2 separate regions of the Homo sapiens genome follow, and region 2 is linked to region 1. Evidence: promoter capture Hi-C in 16 types of primary human blood cells and fetal thymus (Javierre and others, 2016). All regions are on one chromosome and are shown on one strand. Each heading gives the region's core, a stretch centred on a gene start or on the middle of the fragment in contact. The rest is flanking DNA. Distances are from core to core; before and after follow the strand shown. Region 1 holds the start of HNRNPD (heterogeneous nuclear ribonucleoprotein D). Region 2 holds the start of G3BP2 (G3BP stress granule assembly factor 2).

What was found. The method cuts DNA at HindIII sites, captures the fragments that hold promoters and counts their contacts. A CHiCAGO score of 5 or more calls a contact.
Region 2: a fragment that was not itself captured here is called in contact with the fragment with the promoter of HNRNPD in region 1 in 1 of 17 cell types (fetal thymus); the score reaches 6.0 in fetal thymus.

Annotation. Positions count from the first base shown.
Region 1 is chr4:82,369,451-82,377,142 of GRCh38, forward strand. HNRNPD (heterogeneous nuclear ribonucleoprotein D) reads right to left here and starts at 4,541. Exons shown (of 9, transcript NM_031370.3): 1 at 3,996-4,541; 2 at 2,078-2,134. The coding sequence starts at 4,228. It overlaps HNRNPD-DT (HNRNPD divergent transcript), which reads left to right and starts at 5,118. Exons shown (of 2, transcript NR_183813.1): 1 at 5,118-5,215. RefSeq lists enhancers at 3,090-3,139, 4,500-4,669 and a silencer at 4,040-4,139. The HindIII fragment of the contact is 7,055 bases long and covers 1-5,667 here.
Region 2 is chr4:75,669,520-75,677,211 of GRCh38, forward strand. G3BP2 (G3BP stress granule assembly factor 2) reads right to left here and starts at 3,892. Exons shown (of 12, transcript NM_203505.3): 1 at 3,689-3,892. RefSeq lists enhancers at 2,772-3,749, 3,182-3,421, 3,702-3,991, 4,728-5,705, 5,706-6,682. The HindIII fragment of the contact is 474 bases long and covers 2,867-3,340 here.

The DNA.
Region 1 (7,692 bases), core at 3,291-5,790:
AAAAACCTATTTCTAAAACCAACTGATTTTTAAAGTATTTTAGGATGAAACTGTAATCACTTTATTCTCAGATTTGCAGAAGGAAATGCACACAGAACTGTGTTTAATAAATTCAATTTGGATACTCTATTAACCAGTCTTACCCTCAATATTGAGACTATAAAACTGTTGCCCTTATAATATCCCTCAAAATGGGAGAAAGAGGAAGGGACAGATACGGTGGGGAGTGCAGACACCAAAAAAAAAAAAAGAGAGAGAAAAAAGTCTGAAAGTTTTTCATTCAAAAAGAAAGCCTTAACGTCTGGAACAGGATAGGGCTGCATAATTGGAAAGTTAAGAAAAGTCAAATATTAGAGCCCTTAAAAATGAGAACATTATTTTTAAGTGTAATTTTAAAATCAACCTGGCTAGGCCGGGCGCAGTGGCTCACGCCTGTGATTACAGCACTTGGGGAGGCCGAGGCAGGCGGATCACCTGAGGTCGGGAGTTCGAGACCAGCCTGACCAACATGAAGAAACCCTGTCTCTACTAAAAATACAAAATTAGCCAGGCATGGTGGAATATGCCTGTAATCCCAACTACTTTGGAGGCTGAGGCAGGAGAATTGCTTGAACCTGGGAGGTGGAGGTTGCGCTGAGCCAAGATCACACCACTGCACTCCAGCCTGGGCAACAAAAGCTAAACTCCGTCTCAAAAATAAAATAAACCTGGGTAAAATTTTATTTTCAGTAAATGACAGTTGGTTACTATCTAGAATGTTTATTAACTATGAATATAAACATTTCTCCATTTTTCCTGAGATTATTCAAAAAAGTTGTAATATTACATCGTTTTAGGTAGCAGGTCAAGTGTAATTACTTCGAAGAGTCAAAACACTGACCTTCAAATTTAAGTTTATGGTCATTTCAAATCACTGGAAACAATTACATGAGACTCAAAATACATAATGGAGTAATGTCAAATAGTTTATAGTTTAATCTTAATTTGCCACTATTAGCTAGCAGTGAAATTGAGCTGCTAGTGCCCACCACTCACCAAATACAGGGAATAACATTCATCGAAACTGTGACCCCAGTCTTTTTTTTTTCCTCTTTTTTGCTTTTCCCCTTGCCTGTTTCCCATCTGCTTTTTCTCCAAGGTAAAGCTGGACTGATTTCAGTGGATGAGAATACAGTGATAAGCAAATCTTTAAATGTTACCCTAAATAGGCTCTTAAAATAGAATGTAGCTTGTAAAGATATAAGTTAACTGCCTGCAAGTTAGTGGCCTTCTACTCTCCAGTGGTGGTGTATAAACCCCTGAAAATTCAAATATAATCCTAAAAGCAGAAAGACTGACATTTAGGGGAGGGGAAAGGATGGATAAAAAGAACAATACTCAACCTACCAGCCTCCAAAGAGAAGTCATGCAATTGTGAATACATGTCAACCAACTGTTATTAATATTCCAGCCAAATCACACTGAAAATAAAAAATCTGGTAAGAGCTGTAGTGGAAAGCCACATTAGCCCACCTTTTAATGGTATATATATACACACACACACACACACACACACTTCTTATTAAAGGTCTATTTACAAATATGCTAGGTAAAAGACAAACATTTTTCCATAATACACAGTGCTGCTTAAAGAACTGCTTCAGACATCTCCAGAATATTTCAGTATAACATGCATGACATTTTAAACACAATATTTTATATCAAGGAGTCTTCATATTTAGCCATTAAACTTAAATTCCAACAAAAATATTTTTCATCTTAAAATAAATCAAATGTGAAGATTACGGTAATATTTTTTCTTGCTCGATATAAAAATATCGTTACTAATTGTTTAGCTTAAATTGCCAAACTGCAACTACATGCATTACCACAGACCAAATACCATGTAACGGCATCAATTTTGCCCAAAGATTACACATGATGCCTATAAAAGGTATATATCCCAGGTACAAACCTACTGTATGTACTATGGTCTAGAATTTCCTGGGGATCAATGGGCAACTAACCAATACACAGCCTCTACATATTATGACTACTGAAACCTTTATAATACAGAAATAAAATTTAAAAGTTTTACCATTCTTCCCGCTGTGCCGTCGCTGCTTCAGAGTGTCGTGGGGAGGAGTTTGAATGGCTAGGGAATTAACAACCGGTACAGCAACCAATCAAAATTCTAGTTTTAGTTTTTGACACTGTTAGGGTTAAAAACTTTAATTCATTTACACTTCAACAGTAGGTAACTATAAAGTCAGCTGCTTTGCGATTTGAATTATCAGGGCTAACAGAAAGCCTGCCCCAAACAGGAAGTTATACAATTAATCATTTTGGTGCCTCTGTCCAAAGAACAGAATTCAGCAAACGAAAACCAAAATGTTAAAGGTTTTAAGTTTCCAAATATCTAACATCTTCCTTTCTCAAATAAGCTATATACAATTCGAGTTGGTTCTGTTTAATTTTTAAAAGTTTGCTTCCCTTCCCACCACCACTCCCCCAAAACCAGCACTATCATCAAACAGCCTGACAAGAATCTGCCTAGGCTGGGCTTAATAAACCCTATATTCCAAAGTGCTTCTCCCCTCCCAACTTTCCCTCCAAATCCTGGGCTCTTTCTCAGTAAAGGAAATCGTGTTTTCTAATACTAGATTAAAGCGACATCTTGTTATATCCACCAACACCTTTCTCTTTACAGTTAAAAAAAAATTCAGACACACACACACCCCTCCCCATTACAAAAAGGAATGGAAGCGTGAACCCACGATCATCGGTCAGTAATCGGAGCTAAGAAAACTCAACCAAGAAACCTGATTTAGTCCCTCCTGCTAACTCCCGTATTATGTTCCCAATCCCAAATGCTGCATTTTAATACACTAAATGCAGATTTAGGTAGTATATACAACTGTTATTTCAATTGGAGGAAGCAAGTTAATACTAAGAAATTTGCACCAAAAAGAAAAAAAAAGTATCCCATAGCACAATACAGGATTTGTTTCTCTTAAGAGGACTACAGGCCTCCCTTAGTGGGCGGGAAACAGATATCAAGACACCAAAATAGGATCCTGGGCACCGGGAAAAAAAGGGGGCTGGGGGTTGTAAAAAATTAGGTTGCACATAAAAAGTAAGGTACAATCTGTACTAACAGTTGGGGAACCCAATAGCTGAGGGCGCGAAAAGGGTGCGCGGTTAGAATAACTCAGTGGGGTGGGGGAAGGGTAGATGCTAGGCCGGAGATAGGAACAGCTCCAGTCAAGTGCAGGCCCGATCGACTAAGAACTTAACCAGAGCCCGCGGAGCAAAACCAATGTACCAACAAGAAACTCGGAGCATTTCACCAGACCCAATTTGGTCTGCATGTCAAAATGTAGGGCCTGTATGAGTATGCCATTGTGCGATAGCGTATGGTGGAGAAAATGAGTAAATCCTTAGGCGAAACTTATTCAAAATCCCAAGAAAACAGTCGGCCTAAGGCCGACAAGGGAGAGGCAGAGGTGGACAGCCTACGCGTTCCCCAAAACATGTGCTTATAAACAATCGCATCGTTTCAGGATGGTGGAGAAGCACCAAATAAACCTTAGTAATACAAACAGAGAAGCTGTTTGTGTCTGTGTTTTTATGCCCAAGACTGTAGAAAAAGGGAAAAAGAGGGGACAGCATGGAAAGAAAAAAGGTACCCCACGACAGGCGGGAAAAAATCCTGGCGGCTAAGTCGGTGGGAGGAGACCCATGGCGAGGGAGGAAAGGAGGGCGGGCCGAGGAGCAGCATGGTGACGGCTAAAGGTGGAAACGTGTGTGATGGGGGAGGGGGGCGATAAGCAGGCAAAGGAAGAAGGAAATGAAGGTCCGGGGAACCCAACATAGAAAAAGGGAGACCAGTGCAAGGAGGCTGCATGGGGGCCCGGAGAACGGGCTGAGAGCGGGAACCAGGCCTAATGGCGGGGGAATAAAGAGGGGGAGGGGGACTAGTTGGGCCTGACTATCCTGGGATGCCCCTTACTCACCCTTCATCCTCCTCGTTCTTACTGGCGTCAATCTTCGCCCCCTCCGACTCGGCGCTGCCCCCTTCGGTGCCTCCAGACGCGGTTCCGCCCCCGGTCCCGGCTCCGCTTCCCGCCGCCGCCGCTGCCCCCTGTGTCGCCGCCACCATGGCTCCCTCCTGCTCGCCCGCCGAGCCGCCTACCGCCGCCGTTGCCGCTGCCGCCGCCCCGTCCCCGCCGAACTGCTCCTCCGACATAGTGCTAGTGTCTCCGCCGCTGCCGCCGAGACTACACCCGCCGCTGCCGCGAACCGAAACTAGCAGCAAAGTAATCCCCGCCGCTGCCGCGCGCCCGCTCTACCTCGCGAAGCACACAAGACAGGGAAGGCGCGCGCGTGGCTGCAAAGGCTCCTGCGCCTCTCCCTGGCCTGCCCCCTTCGCCTCCCACTCTCGCGCGGCGCACACTCCCGCTCTCTCCCGCTGCACTAAAAAAGAATAAGCACCAGCGGCGGCCGCTCTCGCCTCCTCCTCGCTTTAATGGCGCCGCCGCGGACCACCTAAAATGGCCGACGGAAGAACGGCGCGTCCCGGTCACGTGACGCGAGAGCGCGCCCTTCGCGCGTCCCCCCACCCCTATCCCCCTAGTTTTTTTTTTTTCCCTTTCCTCCTCGGTCCCGCCCTCTCGCTACCCTTTATACCTTCCTCTCACGCTCCGCGTTGCACAGCCTTGGGGGCCTTTAAAAGGAACCGGAAGTGTCGTGAGCTAAGACAGTCGCGCGGGGACCATCGAGAACAAGGAGTGCTGTTTCGAAGTAGCGGCTAGAGGGGCCCCCTGCCTCCGCCCCCGCCCTTCCGAGGATTCCTGGAGTCCACTCACCCCTCCCCACCACTCCAGTAGCGGCGGGAGCAGCAGCGTTAGGCCGGGGTGTGGCTGCACCTCTGCGAAGGCTGTCGTGCCCCGTGCAGCTGCGGCGTTCGGGTGGGGGAGGGGAGGCTCACACCCTGCGGCGGCTTAAGCCTGGATTTACGCACTGGAGGAGGGAATTAGCCCTGAGATGTCAGCCCTGTGCCCCTGGCGCTGTCCACCCGGACGCCCGCGGAGCGCCAGGCGCCGCAGCGGACCGCGCGCGCACTGATTGCCGCAGCTACTCTCCCTGCCGTCGCCGCCCGGGACCGGGTGACATTGAGGTTTTCGTCTATCGCCGCTGGGCCGATAGGGCTTCTTTTTAAGATTTGGCTTTCCAAGTAAGATTTTTGTTTGCCTGCTTTTCTCCTGGAATTTTTTTGTTTTTGGTCGAAGAAGCAGGTAACTTGCATATCTTAAGGAAAACATTGTTTTTGCTTTGCTTTTGTTGTTTAAAGATCCTAAAACGTACCGTGATTCCTTTACGTTACTAATAATTGGAAAGTGTGTTAAATCAAGGGTTCGCTTAATGTTCTTTAGCCTTTGTACATAGAATATATAAATGTCGTGAGTCATCTTTACGAGGTTTATGAGTTTGTGTTCGGGTTTGGCTTTTTTGTTGTGTGTGCGTGGTTTTTTTTTTTCTTTTCTTGTAACACCGTTAGGCGTTTCATTAAGGTGTATAAAAAGTAATTTTATACACCTATTAAAAATTCCCGCTGCCTCGGCTGGAGACTGGATTATTCGGGCTTTGGGATTTGCTGCTTCCAGCAGTATCCTTAGAAGAAAATGAAGCTTCTAGGTACTTCTGTAGTCAACAAATAATTATTTGCCTGTTTAATTAAAGTGTTCGGGCACGGGGGAAACAAAGACGAGTTTGCAGACTCCAGCAAAAATCTTAAGAGTTTAAGTATTTGGGCCGGGCGCGGTGGCTCACGCCTGTAATCCCAGCACTTTGGGAGGCCGAGGCGGGCGGATCACGAGGTCAGGAGTTCGAGACAAGCCTGACCAACATGGTGAAACCCCCGTGTCTACTAAAAATACAAAAATTAGCCGGGCGTGGTGGCCGGTACCTGTAATCTCAGGTACTCAGGAGGCTGAGGCAGGAGAATCGCTTGAACCCGGGAGGTGGAGATTGCAGGGAGTCGAGATCATGCCACTTGCACTCCAGCCTGGGCGACAGAGCGAGACTCCGTCTCAAAAAAAAAAAAAAAAAAAAAGTTTAGGTATTTTCCACTGCAGTTAAACGAATTTGTATTAATTGGACACTATCCAAAAATCTCAAAGGAAGATTATAAGTAAGTTTTATTAATCAAGTTAGTAGAATTTACATTACAGAATAATTAAAACTCAAGAATACAGGTCAAATTCTGAAAACGTCCTAAAAATATAATCTTACCAAACTCCCGTAATAATCAAGTCACATAAAGGTAATACCAAGAATGTTTACCGTAAAGTGGTAGTGACTCCACATTTGTCTCCACCTGCCAGAATATTAGCAAAGGATAAAGTGGATATGGTGCTCAAACCATATATTCCGGGTTAGATACAACTAAGATGATTGACTGAAGGGAAGTCTGTTTAATCTTTTCTGGCTCAAGTGACGGTAATTGTCATTTATTTTGATCTTAAGATATCATTAGACATACCCACCTTTTGGTAATAGTGACTTTTCCAAAAGGTTCATTTTGATTTCACATGTAGCTTAGGAGCTTCTGGAATTCTTAGAATTTATGTCAAAAGTTCCAGACAACCTAGGAATGATTTTAAAGCTAACACCTTTACATGCTTTATGAGGATGTATGATGTCCATATCACTGATAGTCCTTGATATTATGGCCAAGATCTCTACATCCAGGATGTGCTCCTGCATCCACACAATATTCTTCTTGGAACTCACTTAACTTCTGGCAGGCGTGGTGGCTCACGCCTGTAATCCAGCACTTTGAGAGGCCAAGTCGGGAGGATTGCTTGCCTCAAGGAGTTGGCCATCAGCCTGGGCAACGGAGTGAGACCTTGCCTCTACAAAAAGTCAGAAAATTAACCTGGCATGGTGGTTCCTGTTGTTCCAGCTACTCCTGAGGCTGAAGTGGGAGGATCACTTGAACCTGGAAGGTGGAGGCTGCAGTGAGAAAGGCAGAGTGAGACCCTGTCTCAAAAACAAACAAATGTTACTATTTATGTGAAGTCTTCCCAGGCTTCCTGAGGCAGAATTAATGATCCCTTTTCACAGCCCTTTATCTTTACCTCTGTTATTCTTCATTGTTTTCTACTAGACCATGAGTTCTTAGAAAACAGTGTCTTCTATGTATCTCTCCCTCCCTAACACACTCTCACACACACATAAACACAGCAGCAGTATATCCACACTATGTAATTGCCAGTTGAATTATTGAATGACAAAATAATAAGTATGTCCAACTTGTTAGATTAAGGGGCTTTCAAGCAAACTAGGTGTTCTTCCAGGGACTTGAAAGTCTCCTCTCCACACCATCTCATTTCATCTCTGGCATTAAAAAAAAAAAAACTTTTGGCCAGGTGCTGTGGCTCATGCCTATAATCCCAACACTTTGGTAGGCCAAGGAGGGATGATTGCTTGAGCCCAGGAATTTTTTTTTTTTTTTTTTTTTTTTTGAGACAGAGTTTCACTCTGTTGCCCAGGCTGGAGGTGCAATGGCGCGATCTCGGCTCACTCCCGGGTTGACGCCATTCTCCTTCCTGTCTCCCAAGTAGCTGGGACAACAGGCACCTGCCACCACGCCCGGCTAATTTTTTTTGTATTTTTAGTAGAGACGGGGTTTCACTGTGCTAGTCAGGA
Region 2 (7,692 bases), core at 1,854-4,353, 6.7 Mb before region 1:
CTGCATTCAGTTTGGCATCTAAGGCCCTACACAGAAATCCAGTCTGACATTCAATGTCATAACCAACCTTTCAAATTTATCTCCTACTATACTTTCTCATCCCTGTATCAAATTCTATACAAATATTTTAATCACCTAATATTATTCTCTGCAATTTCACTCTCTGCGCCTTTGTCTTACTTCATTCATTCCCATCCACAAGCTGAGTCAATGGGTTATACAAAATAAATTCATTTCAACATTTATTTTATGGCTACTATGTATGTACCAGAAACTACAAAAGGAAAAAGAGGCCGGGTGCAGTGGCTCACGCCTGTAATTCTAGCACTTCGGGAGGCCGAGATGGGTGGATCACCTGAGGTCAGGAGTTCGAGACCAGCCTGACCAACATGGCAAAACCCATCTCTACTAAAAACACAAAAAAGTTAGCCGTGTGCAGTGGCGGGCGCCTGTAATCCCAGCTACTCAGGAGGCTGAAGCAGGAGAATCGCTTGAACCCGGGGGCGGAGGTTGCAGTGAGCTGAGTTGTAAGTACTTGGTATTAGTTATTATAAAAAGAATAAGACCTCTAGTAATAGGAGGCAGTTCTCTTTACCAGATACTGTTACCAAAGGTTATGTGGGTGCTAAGACACAGCTTATCTCCACTATAGGATACTTACCCCTTTCCCCTCTGGAGTCCCTCACTCATAGCTGGGCTCAAACTAGTCAGGTTTATTTATTTTAATTGAACCATGGACTATATCCATTTCCAACAGCTAAATGCATATTAATACTGGAACTTTCTGAAATTCCAGATGGTTTTTGTTTGAAGTAACTTAAACAATCTAAGGAACACTATACCTTTTTAAAGAAATGACCTTCAATCTTTTGTGGTACACCATTGAATGAAAGCTTCACAAAGAAGATCTAAGAATCATAGTGGTACAAATAAATAATAAAAGTAAGTTATGGATTAAATCTCTTATTCAGGCTCCAAAAGGTGTTTTTGTTTTCTGTCCTTCTCAGAAGTTGAGGGAGGCTAGTTTTAAAATTCAGAAGCTATTAAAAGTGACCAAGCAGTAAGAAATGGAAATGCTTGCTGTCCACAAAAATAAAGCATGTATTTATACTATGTTTTAAAGTTTAACAAGTAACCTACTATTTTCTTTTGTCTTTAAAATAGATAGGGCATTATCTTCATTTACAGAAAAGGATGTTTAGAGAGCCTAAGGAAAGGTGTTTGGGGTTCCTCAGTTACAGTAAAAAGAAAGAGGATTTGAAATCAGGTCTCCTGACTCCTGACTCAACTGATGTTTTCATTACACTTTGGTTAGGAACAACCGCTTTGGAAGAGCAGCCAGCTCTTCCAACAATACAAAAAATTAATTTTAAACAAGCAATTGTTAGCTTATGTGAAACTGTTGAGAAGAGTGAAAAGCAAAGGAATACAGCAGGACAGCAACAGAAAATCCAAGAATAATTTTCAATATACCTATGGTTTCAAGATAGGGTAAAATACTTGGAAATTAGCAGATAAAAGTAAGCAGAAACACGACAGTCAAGAAACTAATTCTATTGCTTCTGAAGGTAGGCCAGGACCTTCCTGAAGGTGGGTGGACCAATTTATTCTATCGGATATAAAACAAGTGTCTACCAGTGGAGAGTAACTAGGTCATGTTTGTCCATTAAATTCTACTGAATTTAAGTTCAGACGCAACACTTTAGTTTGTGCCTTTCAAAATCAACATTGAAAAGGAGTCATTCACTGTCTCCATATTCACTCAAAATATGTGGAAAGTCTTTTTAAAGCAATCTAGGGGGAAAATGTTCAATCCTAATTATGCGTAATAAACAGCGATAATTTTGCAGGATAAGGAGGGAAGTTTTCAGAATCTAAAGACACAGTGCCAACACTTTCTTCAAACCAGGAGTTGCCTGCTGACAAATCAACTGCTCAGCTGCTAACTGAACAGTTAAGTTAGTTACTCTACGAAATGGTCAAATAATGTGTTTTCTTCTTTACCTTCTAATTTTTATCCCCATCCATCCCACAAGCATTCTGGTTCACTCTTGATGTTTTTTCACTATTACTAATATTTCGACCCTGAATATCAATCTGAACTATGACAGCTCTTAGTAAGAAATTCATTCTAGGTCCTTATTATTCCTACAATTCCTTGACTGCTTTTCAGAATTAGTTTGTAAAGATTAAATCATAACATAAAGGCCCATAAGAGTAATCTTAAACATTTAAGAAAAATGTTACTGCCAAAGAAAGGATAATTCAATCCTGAGGTTCAAACTCATCGTACCGTTTATCTCCTAAGACCAGGAATCTTGGATTATCAAAAAGACCACTGGATGCTAACAGGGCCAAAAGTTTACTTAGAAACTTGGTTCACATGCCTAAGGCTATATTAACTGCCAAATATGGAGCTAGAGAAAAATTGCCATCATCTCCCACTCTAGTACACCGGGGCTCTCTTAACGACAGTTAATGTTTCCTAGATCCAGGTACCTGCAACACTAACGTTTGAAAGACCAGAACAAGGTACAGAGCCTTGAACCTAAAACCACAGTATCTTAATCCAAGTTAATATCCCACAACAATCATACAGGGAGAACAGGACTTTACTATTCCAGCTAAAAGTGCAAGTGCCTTTTTTTTGTTGTTGTTATGAAGGAAAAGGCACTCTCCTCCCACCCCCCAAATCCGTTAGAACATTAAGTATGTCTTGGGGAAAAAAGCTGATCTATGCAGGAAATTATAGACGAAAATCTATATTCGCCCCAAAGCGGCAAAGGGCCATCTTAAGAAATCTGCTTTTAGAGACGCAGGAAAAATTCTATCAGATTCCACTAACAAAATCAACACAATCTAGGGAAGCTTCTGTTCCTTTCTGTCCCCCCATCCCAACAAAAGCGGGAACCCATCCCCCAAAAGCCATTCCCGAGTCAATAAGGGATCGTCTGCATAAGAGGGGGACGAAGAAGGCGCACGTTACAGTTCCAGTATCCGAACACGTTCGGATTAAACCCGCGGTGGCAGGGAGAGGGGGGTTGGTCAAACACGACGGAACACTAGGTACTGGGTAAGCGAAGCGGCGGCTGCCTTCAAACCCGGATTCTGTTTCCGTGCACAGAAATGGTGCCCGGAGGCCGCCACTTTCGCATCTGCGTCGCTTCTGCCTCCGTCGACACAACCTCTTTTCCCCTCCCCCCACGGGCGGGGTGGCGACGGCCTCTCCGCTCCGAAGGAACAAGGTACAAGAGCCGAAAACGATTCGGAAACAGGAACGGTGGGCTACCCACCCTAAAACATCCCCTCCAGAAAGCCTGCTCCCACACTTCCTGTATTAAGCTTCCATCAGCGCGCCTTCGGGAGCTGCTGCGTGCCTCCCCCCCCACTTCGCCACCTCATCCCCAATAAACCTCAACCCCACCTGTGCACTCGGAGCCCTCTGCCCGCAAGACGCTCGCGGGTCACCTCCCTTCCCAGGCGGCCTCCCACCCCTCACCTAGAGGAAAGACTGGTCTTCTCTCACGCACACACGGCACCGTAGGGAGCCGGCAAGAACAATGTCTCTGCCGCTACACCTCCGGCTCCCGGGCTCACACACCGGACGATTGCCTCGCGCCGCGGAGCGCGAATGGAATGTCCCTTTCCGACCACCACACCGACCTCCCCTCCCGGCGCCCGTACACACCTCCAGCCAACGGCGGCGGCGGGTACGTCGCGCGGAGGTCAGAAGAGTCGCTGAGGACCGGGTGCGGCGGGTTCTTATTGCTCGCCGCCCCCTTCCTCCGACAACTCGGAAGCCTCGGAAGCCGGAGAGCCGCGAGTTCGTCTGCCTCACAACCACCTCTTCCCGGGCGCCAGGCGCTGCGACGTGCGACAAGGACCACGGACGTCCCGCCCCCTTTGCCACCGCCCCCTCTTATTGTTTTACCCCTGCCGAAAGGGCCAGGGAACCCCCGAGCACAGCGTCAGCCAATCACGCATCTCCTCCAGAGCCGGACCCAACCTTCCCGTGTCCCTCTGCGGAGCACGCGCAGTACGCTGCCGCGCTCGCACACGCTCGCGCCCGGAAAGCCGGGGAACCGGAACCGGCCTAAAGCCAAGATAAGAGTCCGCTGATTTGACGTCACAAGCAGGCTGCCTTTCTCCGGTCCCGAGGCTCCAGCCTTGCCGCCCTTCTTCCTGATCGCGCAAGCGAGAGCTGGTTCGCAGCAACGCAGTGTCTTTTGTAGACTGATATTCTGGTCCTTTTTATTAATGGGAAGGAGGGAATTTAGTAATCTCTCTGAATAGGTGTCTGCAGGTTGCTGCTGTAGACGAGCTTAAAATGCAGCCGGTGATTTCAGCTGTTTGCACACTAAACTCACCTACATTGTTTACTTAACCCATCCTAGGTTTTAAGCCCCATTAAGAGGCCCTGCAGTAAAGGAAGAACATGACGTGGGCTTTACAGAGGGGGAAAAGACTATTTCTTTGTGTCCTTGTTACGAATTTAGGCATGGCTAAATATCAGTAGATACTAAAGCATTTTACATACTAAAGCTAAAAGAAGGCCTGAAATACAAGGATTACAGTCCTGTTCTAGCTCTAAGCCCAGACTTGCCCCCAGGGTGAGACACTGGTGACCTTGTTTCATGGACAAAGCCAAGCCAAATCTTGTAGTCAAGGAAGCCACTTTGCATCTTAGGTCTGGCAGTGTTTTCAGAGAATACCGAGATAGCACAGGAATTTTGGAATGAAGGACTGAGGAAGTGTTCAAAGAAACGGAAAGGAAAAAATACATTAATGAATGCTTACGAACTAAACATGGTGGACGCAAGCATGTACATCTCATCAGTTTTCTTCGCAATCCTGTAAGGGCAATTTTAAGGTATTTGGCATGTTAAGACAATACGTCAAATACCTTAAATATTGGCAGAGGCAATGCCAACATTAGGGCCTCCAAAGTCTACAATATCTTTACCTTTAGACTGCTTAAAGATACTGTTATATGCAAAATATTTGGGCAGACCATCACTTTAATGAAATCAACCTGATGTTTTTCCTTAAAGCATCAAAATACATTACATGCCGGCTGTCCTTTAATATACTGGGCTTATATACCAGGCATTCTTGTAATTATACAGCCTTCTGAGCCTCACAGTAACCCTATGAGCTAGTTGCTATATGTATGTACATATATATATATATATATATATATTTTTTTTTTTTTTTTTTTTTTAAGATGGAGTCTCTCTGTGTCGCCCAGGCTGGAGTGCAATGGCACGGTCTTGGCTCACTGCAACCTCCGCCTCCCGGGTTCAAGCGGTTCTCCTGCCTCAGGCTCCCTAGTAGCTGGGACTACAGGCGCATGCCACCACACCCAACTAATTTTTATATTTTTAGTAGAGACGAGGTTTCACTATGTTGGCCAGGCTGGTCTCGAACACACCTGACCTCGTGATCCGCCCGCCTTGGCCTCCTAAAGTGTTGGGATTACAGGCGTGAGCCACCGCACCCGGCCAGTAGTTGCTATTTTTATGCCCATTTTATAGATGAGAAAACAGGCTTGGAGAGGTCAAGTAACTTACCCAGGACTACACTGCTACTATTCACTGGAGCTGGGATTCAAACACAGGCAATCTGCCTCCACAGTCCATACCCTCAGGCAAACTATAGAATACTCCCATTGTACTAATTGCCGCAATTCACTTATCTGCCCTACTGCTGACTAACCTTCAAGTGTTTCCGGTTTGGAGCTCTTCCGTGCAATGCTATTATAAATATTCTTCACCATGTATCCTGCAGAGGTGCAGAACTTTCTCTAGAGCAGTGGTTCTCAGACCTTAATGTGCACCGAAATCACCTGTAGGGCTTGTTAAAACAGATAGTTGGGCCCCACTCCCTAAGTTTCTGATTCAACAGAGGCCCGAGAATTTGCACTTCTAACAAGTTCTCAGCTGATGGTGCTACTGCTGCTCTAGGAGCCACACTTTAAAAACCACTGATATAGGCCGGGCGCGGCAGCTCACGACTGTAATCCCAGCACTTTGGAAGGCCGAGGGGGGCGGATCACCTGAGGTCAGGAGTTTGAGACCAGCCTGACCAACATGGAGAAACCTCGTCTCTACTAAAAATACAAAATTAGCCGGGCGTGGTGGCGCATGCCTGTAATCCCAGCTACTCGGGAGGCTGAGGCAGGAGAATCGCTTGAACCTGGGAGGCGGAGGTTGCGGTGAGCTGAGATCGCGCTATTGCACTCCAGCCTGGGTGACAACAGTGAAAACTCCGTCTCAAAAAAAACAAACACCACTGATCTAGGGCAGAGGTGGGCAAACGGTTTGATAAGGGAAGGATTAGATAGTAAATATTTTTGGTTTTGAGCGCCACGTATGGTTTCTGTTGCATATTCCTCTCTCTCTCGCATCCTTTAAAAATTTAAGAAACATTTTTAGTTTAGCTCTAGAGCTACACAGAAACAGCCCTCAGGTAACCCTGCTCTTGAGTAGACACCAATAAGTGGAGTTAATGGGAAAAAAGATTCAGCGATCTTCAATGTTAAGTAAATATCTCTAACCTATTCTAACTGGCGATTTTTACCTCATAAACATATCTCTACACAAATAGCCCCTGCCCAGGTTCAGGCCCCTTCATCTTCCCAGGAAGACTGCAGTGGCCTCCTAACTAATCTCCCTGCCTCTCAAACATAGCCTCCATGAAGCAATGTCCACCTCCTATAGACTAGGCAGGGAGACCAGTGTGAACGGTATTCATTCGGTGGCTCAGGCCAAAAACCTCTTTTTCTCACACCAATTTATTGACAGCCAATTGCCAATAATTTTTTTTTTTTTTTTTTTTTTTTGAGATGGAGTCTCGCTCTGTCATCCAGGCTGGAGTGCAATGGCATGATCTGGGCTGACTGCAACCTCCACCTCCCAGGTTCAAGCCATTCTCCTGCCTTGGCCTCCCAAGTGGCTAGGACTACAGGCATGTGCCACCACGCCCATCTAATTTTTCTATTTTTAGTAGAGACGAGGTTTCACCATGTTGGCCAGGTTGATCTCGAACTCCTGACCTCAAGTGATCCACCCACTTCGCCGAATTGTCAATACATTTCTGTTCCCTCTACCTTCAACATTTATTCTGGATTAAATACTTTGCATCACTGTTACTGCTGCTATAGTAGTCCAGGCCACCATTGCCTATTGCAATAGCTTTCTACTTGGCCTCAATGCTTCCACTCTTATTCCACTACAGTCTGTTCCCCTCACAGCAGCCAGATCTTTCATAGTTATAATTGAGATGGTCCCAAAACCTTTAAAAGGCAACACAAAATCTCAGGTCCTTACCATGGCCTACAAGGCCTACCTGATCTAGTCCTTACCTATTACTTCCATTTCTTTTCTTACCACTGGTTTTCTCACACCACCCCAGCCAGCTCTTCCTTTGACATTCTCATCACATTACCACCCCAAGGCCTTTAATGTGAACCTTTATCAAAACACTGTGAAAAATAAAAGTAAATGAATCAGACCCAATCACCATTAGCAGGTAAATTTTTAAAAGTAAAATTACTAGAATTATATTACCTGATTCCTGATTTTTATTATAAACTTCAGCATAAAATACTTAGATAAGTATTTGAATAAGATAAGACATTTGAATTTATAAAGCTTTTCCTCTACACCCTTTCATTTGACCATTCTCAACTTT